Regions from separate parts of the Homo sapiens genome. Here region 2 is linked to region 1. Evidence: promoter capture Hi-C in 16 types of primary human blood cells and fetal thymus (Javierre and others, 2016). All regions are on one chromosome and are shown on one strand. The core of a region is centred on a gene start or on the middle of the fragment in contact, and the rest is flanking DNA. Distances in the headings are between cores, read along the strand shown.

Region 1 (4,199 bases), core at 95-2,594:
ATAAGAGAATTTGGCACATAGTGGTCAATGAGTGCTTGTTTTAAAAACTGTTTAAGGGAGTATCTTGAACCTTTGGAAATGAACTTAAAAGGTGTTGCATCCTGACACAAACATTGCCAAAAAAAAAAGTTTAAGATTATGACAAATGCATGATTATTCATCTACCAGTTTACTAGTAGTAATCCAGTTTGGCCCAAGTAAATTAAGTCTCAGTGCTGAGTTAGAACCCCAGCTATAAGCTCTTTCACCATTCTCTGAATCACTTCAGTTTTTTGTTTTTGTTTTTGTTTGAGTCAGAGTCTCGCTCTGTCACCCACGGTGGAGTGCAGTGGTACAATCTCGGCTCACTGCAACATGTGCCTCCCAGGTTCAAGCGATTCTCCTGCCCCAGCCTCCCGAGTAGCTGGGATTACAGGCGCACACCACCAAGCCCAGCTAATTTTTGCATTTTAGCAGAGATGAGGTTTCACCATGATGGCCGAGCTGGTCTCGAACTCCTGACCTCAAGTGATCTGCCCACCTCGGCCTCCCAAACTGCTGGGATTACAGGCATGAGCCACTGTGCCCGGCCCAGTTTCTTATTTTAGCCATAATCTCACTGAGTAAATATGGATTTCATTTATTTTTATATATTTATTTATTTTTAAAGACAGGGACTCTTGTCACTCAGGCTGGAGTGCAGTGGCACAATCATAGAACACTGTAACCTCAAACTACCGGTCTCAAGCCTCCCACCTCTGCCTCCTGAATAGCTAGGACTACAGGTGTGCACCACCACTCCTGGCGAATTTTTTTTTTTTAAGAGACGGGGTCTCAGAGTCTCATTATGTTGCCCAGGCTGGTCTCAAACTGCTGGCCTAAGCGATCCTCCCGCCTGACCTTCCAAAATGCTGGGATTACAGGCTTGAGCCACCCCCAGCCTCCGGATTTTCTTTATTCTGAAACTCATCCCTAACTTTATTTTCTGCCAGAGGAAGTCTGTTTTTCACAGCGTGATAAACTAGCAAGTCTGAGCTGCTGCTCTTGTCTTCTTAGAGGATGAAAATGGGAGTTTATCCCTCCTTTTCTCCTTTCTGAAAAGAGAGTAGATGAAACCTTCCCCCGCCTTTTGGTTTTTAGGAAGCAGAAAGCAGAGATATTAACTATATAAAAACTGCAAACACATAAATAACAGCAGTATAGAAAGCATAGGGCTTGTGTCAGCATATGAATGAGGTAGCGTCTTACCACCCTGGCCGCATGCTTGGTCAGCAATTTCCAGCACTTGCAGACACTGCAAAAGGCTTCCCTTATCTCATAAGATGGTTACAACCACCTAGAAAGGTGGAGCAGGATTCTTCGTCTGTGTTATAATAGAGGAAACAGACACAGAGAAGATACAGAGCTAATAACGCAGAGGCTGGACATAACCGAGGTCTTCAAAGCTTCACTTTGGTCTGTTTCATCCCTCTGCCGCAGCTGGGCCCTGGTCCTGATGCTGAGGACCCGAAGCGGGCACACCTGCGCCGGGCAAGAATGAACCCAGCCAATGAGGAGCCCGCATGCGGGGGGCGGGGCGGAACGGGGAAGCTGCCAATGAGAGAGCCTACCCCGAGAGAGATGGAGCTAATGAGGGCCTCGTGCTGGAGAGGGACGGCGGCTTGGCCAATGCGGAGCTGGGTCTGGCGCGGCAGGAAGGCGGGACTGCCAGTGGGGCGCCGGGGCGGGGCGGAGAGCCGAGCGCCAACCCGCTAGCGCCTGAATCCGGCGTGCTGCCCGCTCGCCGCCCGCCATGGCCCGCGCAGCCCCGCTGCTCGCCGCGTTGACCGCGCTCCTCGCCGCCGCCGCTGCTGGCGGAGATGCCCCGCCGGGCAAAATCGGTGCGGGAAGGACGCGGTGGGGTTCCCAGCTGGGGAGGGCCGGCGGGTAAAGGGTTCTCAGTTCTCAGCTAGGTGGGGTATAGGAGGGCGGCTGGGTGAGGGAGGGGTCCTCGGAAAAGGAGCTGGGTGGAGGAGAGGCGCCGAAGGGGACGCGGCAGGGAAGGTCCTGATGGGGCCGGGGCATGGCATGTGAAGAGGGCCACCTAGGACGGAAAAGAGGCCTGGGCAGGACTGGCCGCGGATCTCACCGGGAGGTCCAGGGTCGCTGAGCATCTGCCATGGTCCTGGCTGTTGGCTAGGCGCCCGGGTGACAGAGGACAGAGAGGCTGGGCGATGGCATTCACAGAGGTTGGTTGAGGGCTCTCTGTGTAGCAGACGTGGTGCTGTAGTTCCTGCTGGGGTAGAGCCCTCACAGTACAGGGAAGTCCGTGCTGAGCTGAGGAAGTACGGTGCATGCAGAGGAGGGGCGCTTCACCCTGTCTTTGCGGCCCTGGGAGGGCTTCCTGGAAGTAACATCTAAGCCAAACCACCCCCAGGTCGATAGGAGACAGTCCTGGCAGAGACAGAACACTAGGTCCGCTGGAGATTTGCTGACAGAACGGGGAACTTTTAACAACAGTCTTTTTGTTTATTGTGTGTGTGGTTTCCCCAATACTTTATTTTGAAAATGTTCAGATGTACAGCAAGAATTTTATAGTGGTCATCTGTATACCCACCACCTACATTCTGCCATTAACTGCTGCTATACTTGCTGTGTCACATAACTATCACGCACTGTTCTAGACATCCACGAATCCAGCCTACATTTTGATGCATCTCCAAATAAATTGCAGACATCAGGACACCTCACTAAATACGTCATCGTGCATATCATTGACTAGAGTGTCATATGTGTTTACAGTTGCTTTTTTTTTTCCTCCCTCAACAACTGTCATTTTAACTACATGACTCGTGAAGATTTTCAAGTCCCTCACACGTGATATTCCCACAGGCAGAGATCCTGGGCTTCGGGGTGGGAGGACAAAGACTCTATTCCGCTAGGCCACTCTCCATGCACCCCAGTTGGCAGGAGTGCCTGGAACATCTGATAGAAGCATCACAAACTTACAGGGTCCAGTGCAGTGCTAAAGCTTCTTGTGTAGCAGAACCACAGCCCAGGCCATACAGGGTTAAGAAGACTGAAGCATGCCAGAAACCAGTTTGAGACTGAGAGTTTAGTGCTTGCCAAGAAAAGAGAATCCTGAGGCTAGAGTAGCCAGAGAAGCCCTCATGGAGAAGGTGGAGTTTGAGCCAGGCATTGAAGGATGTGGAAGAGTTAGGCAGGCAGTATCCATGAGTGACCATGTGTTCTCTCTCTGTCCTTAGATCGTTTGAATACAGTGTGGCTAGGAGTAAGCAGAGTGTGCTGTGGGAATATGCAGGGCACTCCCCGTTTTCTTAGGAACAGGCAACAGGACAGGACATTTCTCACCATTGGGGAAGGAGCAGGACCTCCACCCAGCAGAATTGCTGCATTGTGGCAACATGGAGCTCTCTGCCTCCTTCCTCCCAGCTGGCCCTTCTGGCCCCATCCAAGAGTCATCCAGAGCAGGACACTTGGCAATGCCTCACTGCCCTTCAGCTTTCTAGATTTTCCTCAGCCCTCTGACGGGAGCCTCTGTTCATCCTTGGTGGTTTGGACTCTACCCACAACAAGAATGCGGATTCCTGTTAGGATGGCTTAATGCTTGTGCTTCTGCAGGACCAAATCTGAGAACCCCCAAGTGGCATCAGGACCCTCTAAACCCACCCATATAGTTCCATATGCTGCCCTTCTCATGCTGGTCTCTTTGCAGAGTGTGCGTGTCCTCTCACTGACAAAGCTGATTGTCCTCCAGCATCTTGCATGAAATCTTATTTCCCCAAGAAGGCTGTGTCCCCACACCCTCTGGGGCAGAATTCACTGCTTCCCCTTCAGGACTCCCTGGAACCCTGTTGCACTTCATCATGGGTTGTCGTTGCTAATTGCGCAGGAGTCTGTCTGCCCATTCCATGCTGGGGTCCTGGGGGACAGAAGCCTGTTTGATTTTTCTTTGTGCCCCAGGACATCTTACTGTAAATTAGAGAATTGGTGTCAGTTGTGTTAAATGAGCTGGTTCACAATGAAGTGGTGTCTTCTGCTTCCTGATCTTGGGCAGCTTCTAGGCCTTAATATCAATTTCTCTGGAAAAATGGGTAATTTGGGACTCTTTGCACATGGAGGGGATGGGAGCACACTGGTTAAAATAAAATCCAAAGCTGTCTTGGAAGTGGCTTTGTAAGTACTGTGAGAGGAAGTGGTTTATTCTTTCAACACAGAAA
Region 2 (3,804 bases), core at 933-3,432, 1.0 Mb after region 1:
GCCTGCCTGCACTCCTAACCCTGACTTGTCTTCCCACATCTACTCATACCCACCAGACACACTCCACTCTCCACTGGGCAGGCACACAGGTCACAGTAAAATTCAGATTTCATCCTGTACCTCTTGGGCTTACACCGTCAGTGGCTTCCAATGGCTCTTAGGATGGAGGAAAAAAAACCCTGATGTGGCCAATCCTTCACATGGAGTCTGCCCTCTGCCCACCTTCTACACTCCCCAGTCCCCCTGCTCTCCCTCCGGACTATGCTACAAAGGCCTTTTTGTGTCTATTCTCTCAGCTGTACCTTCTGCCCTAGGCCCTTTGCACAGGTTCTTCCCTCTGCTCAGGTTTCTTCTCTCTGACTCTCCCTTACACACAGTTCTGGTTTCCTCATAACCATTAATTTCTCAGGGAATCCTTCCCTAACTCCCAAGAAAAAAATAGATCCCTCCTTCCTGTTATATGCTTTCACAATAATAGCACACACGCACACAGAGAGCGCTATTGTTCAGAGCTCCTCTAAGCATTTCTGCTGAGAATTCATTTACTCCTTATGACAACCCAGTGAGGTAGAAATTATAATTATCTCCATTGTACAGATAAAGAAACTGAGTCACAGTGACTTGCCCAAAGTCACCTAGTTAATGAGGCAAAGCCAGAATTTGAACCCAGGCAGTGTGACTCCAGTGCAGCTTTTAAACACTATATTATTACATAAGAAAACACTATCCTTTTCCTTCCTGCACTTACCCGCTGTTTGTAACACTGTATTGTATGACTATTAGTTTAGTATGTGTCTCCTCCGTTAGACTGTAAGCTCTATTGGAGTAGAGACAATTCCATCACTAGACTGTAAGCTCTATAGGAGTAGAGACTATTCCATCCCCAATGGTAGGTACTCAATAAATATTTGCTCAAGAAAATGGGAAATGTTGAATGTGTACAGACACATAACATTTTCCATTCAAGTTCAAGACAAAGATAACCACATACCTGGACCTCCTAGGGTTAGGGACTCCTGCGCCCGTAAGAAACATGCTGCCCTCAGATTCTCAATGGGTCGGTGAAGTTAAGAACAGCTCACTCTAACATTCTCCAGCCTACCTCACCTTTTCCCTGCCATCCTTCCCTCAACAACTACAACAGCCTCACATTTAGTATTAATGGTATGTGCTTTGGTTTTAGCAATCTTTTAAAAACACAAAACAGGGTCAACCTCCTCGGAAAAGCCAGTCAGAGACTATCTAATGCCCTCAGAGCAAAGTCCAAACTCTGTTGGGGGTGGGGGAGTTGTAGGCCTTGTCTACTTCTTCATCCTCATGTGCCCTCATTTGTTCCCTCTTCCCCACCTCACCCCACCCCACCTGGACAGCCCAGCAGCGCAGACTAGGGGTTCTGGGTTTAGGGTTCCCAGGCAATAGCAGGGTGTTTTCTCATGCCTAGACTCATGCAGTGCCCTCTGCCAGTCCTCTCCTTTGCACCCAGCAATTTCGGGTGTCTTTATGCCTCAGCTTAGATATCTCTCTGGGGTTCGGTGCTCCTCCTTGGGGCGCCCATAGGCTGCATCTGTCCCTGACAAGGCACACAAGATATTGAACTATAGTTGCTTGGTTACGGACAGTCGTCTCTGTGAGCTTTGAGGGCAACTGCCATGTATTATGCATCTTTTGAATCCCCCTAGCCTAGCCGGGTGCTAGCCCAAGTTAGGTGCTTATTACAGATTTGTTCAGTTAGCGAATGAATCAATGAATAAACTGGCAATTCGTGTCTGGTTCATGGGCACCAAAAACCGTGCGAAATGGATAAATGAGCAGGTAATGGCAGTACAAAGTTCGGATCTAGAGAAAGATCCAGATTAGGGAGTTCAGAGATGAGTAAAACGCAGACCCAGCCATCAGAGAATTAACAAGGAAGATAAATCTCTTCAAGAAGCCAGCCGGAAGGATTAAAAGAGAGTCGTCCAAGTCCCGGCCGGCCCCGGGGGCGGGTCCCTGTCTAGCCCCGCATGCTCCGCGCCAATGGGCGGTATTGTTGATCACGAGTCTCCGCCCCCTTCGCCTTGAGGGGCGGGGCCGGCCACTCCCGGAGAGGGGACTACGTTTCCCGGCGCGCCGCGCGGCCGGAGCGAAAGAGGAGCCGGAAGTGTGGCGCGCGAGGTCTAAGGGCGCGAGGGAAGTGGCGGGCGGGGACTAAGGCGGGGCGTGCAGGTAGCCGGCCGGCCGGGGGTCGCGGGTATGGCCGAGGCCAGGAAGCGGCGGGAGCTACTTCCCCTGATCTACCACCATCTGCTGCGGGCTGGCTATGTGCGTGCGGCGCGGGAAGTGAAGGAGCAGAGCGGCCAGGTAAGCGTTCGTGGGCCGTGTGCGAGGGCCGCGTGCAAGATGTGGAGATCAGCGGCCCGCGGCCCGCGCCCCGTCCCCAGGCGACCCGGCAGGCGCCCGGAGCCGGGTCCCGCAGTGCTCGACGGCGCGGCCAGGGGTACCGGAGGAGCCGCAATCTCTGCCTTCCCACTGCGACTTCAGTTCCCCTGGGCCTCACTTTCCTCATCCGGGCAGTGGGTTGGGCCAGAAAGTGTGCTCGCAGGGGCCGAACTTTGTAATTCCCGCTTCCCTTACCTCCACGCCCTTCCTGGTAGCGGGTATTTTAAGTTTCCTAAGTCTCCCGCCACGTGGCTAGGCTCTGCGCGGCCCCCCCTGGGGCAAGGAGGTTGCTGCGAGTCTCGGGGGTGGATTGCGACCAGCCCCTCGGGGGAGCGCCTGGAAAAGGGACCCTACAGCCTCTTAGTTGAGCTGGAACTCAGGCCTTTAGCGATTGTCTGTACTGAGACGGTCAGCTTTGGTACTCGAACTCGTGGTACAGTCATTTCTTACTTGATTAATTCAACTGTTAATCCGGTACTCAGGGTGCTTCCTGGTGTTCGAATGGTGAGCACCATCTCTCAGCCCTCCTGGAGCTTACACTCTAGTAAGGTAGACAAATCAAAGAATCACAAAAGTGACTATATGCTTAGCACCGCAATAAGTGTTAAGAATGAGAGGGATGGGCCGGGCACGGTAGCTCACGCCTGTAATCCCAGCACTTAGGGAGGCCGAGACTAGCGGATCACCTGAGGTCAGAAGTTCGAGACCAGCCTGGCCAACATGGTGAAACACCGTTTCTACTAAAAATACAAAAATTAGCTGGGCATGTTGGCGCACGCCTGTAATCCTGGCTACTCATGTGGCTGAGGCACAAGAATTGCTTGAACCCGGGAGGCAGAGGTTGCAATGAGTCAAGATCGTGCCACTGCACTCCAGCCTGGGCGATAAAGCGAGACTCTGCCTCAAAAAAAAAAGAGAGATGGATGGCAGATTGCCCTGGTCAGGAATAGCTGAGGTGTAAATGCCTTGTGGTGGGAGGGAACTTGTGTACACACTGGCCTGGAGAAAGTCCACTCTCTTGAGCCCAGGAATTTGAGGATACAGTATGAGCCATGATCATGCCACTGCACTCCAGCCTGGGCAACAGAGCAAGACACTGTCTCAAAAAAAAATTTTTTTTAAGTCCATAGCAGGCCAGGTACGGTAGCTCACGCCTGTAATCCCAGCACTTTGGGAGGCCGAGGCAGGCGGATCACTTGAGGCCAGGAGTTCAAAACCAGCCTGACCGACATGGTGAAACCCTGTCTCTACTAAAAATGCAAAAATTAGCCATGCATGGTGGCATGCACCTGTAGTCCCAGTTACTCGGGAGGCTGAGTCAGGAGAATCACTTGAACCCAGGAGGCAGAGGTTGCACTGAGCTGAGACTGAGCCACTGCACTCCAT

What was found. The method cuts DNA at HindIII sites, captures the fragments that hold promoters and counts their contacts. A CHiCAGO score of 5 or more calls a contact.
Region 2: the fragment with the promoter of TCOF1 here is called in contact with the fragment with the promoter of GRPEL2-AS1 in region 1 in 1 of 17 cell types (total CD8 T cells); the score reaches 7.0 in total CD8 T cells.

Annotation. Positions count from the first base shown.
Region 1 is chr5:149,356,298-149,360,496 of GRCh38, forward strand. GRPEL2-AS1 (GRPEL2 antisense RNA 1) reads right to left here and starts at 1,345. Exons shown (of 2, transcript NR_132366.1): 1 at 1,228-1,345. It overlaps PCYOX1L (prenylcysteine oxidase 1 like), which reads left to right and starts at 1,749. Exons shown (of 6, transcript NM_024028.4): 1 at 1,749-1,859. The coding sequence starts at 1,772. RefSeq lists an enhancer at 1,509-1,803 and silencers at 1,529-1,578, 1,599-1,758, 1,779-1,988. The HindIII fragment of the contact is 3,429 bases long and covers 1-1,422 here.
Region 2 is chr5:150,355,515-150,359,318 of GRCh38, forward strand. It overlaps TCOF1 (treacle ribosome biogenesis factor 1), which reads left to right and starts at 2,183. Exons shown (of 27, transcript NM_001371623.1): 1 at 2,183-2,340. The coding sequence starts at 2,233. It overlaps LOC105378226 (a long non-coding RNA gene), which reads right to left and starts at 1,906. Exons shown (of 4, transcript XR_944407.3): 1 at 992-1,906; 2 at 54-156. RefSeq lists an enhancer at 1,201-1,370 and silencers at 1,971-2,310, 2,391-2,610. The HindIII fragment of the contact is 5,465 bases long and covers 1-3,804 here.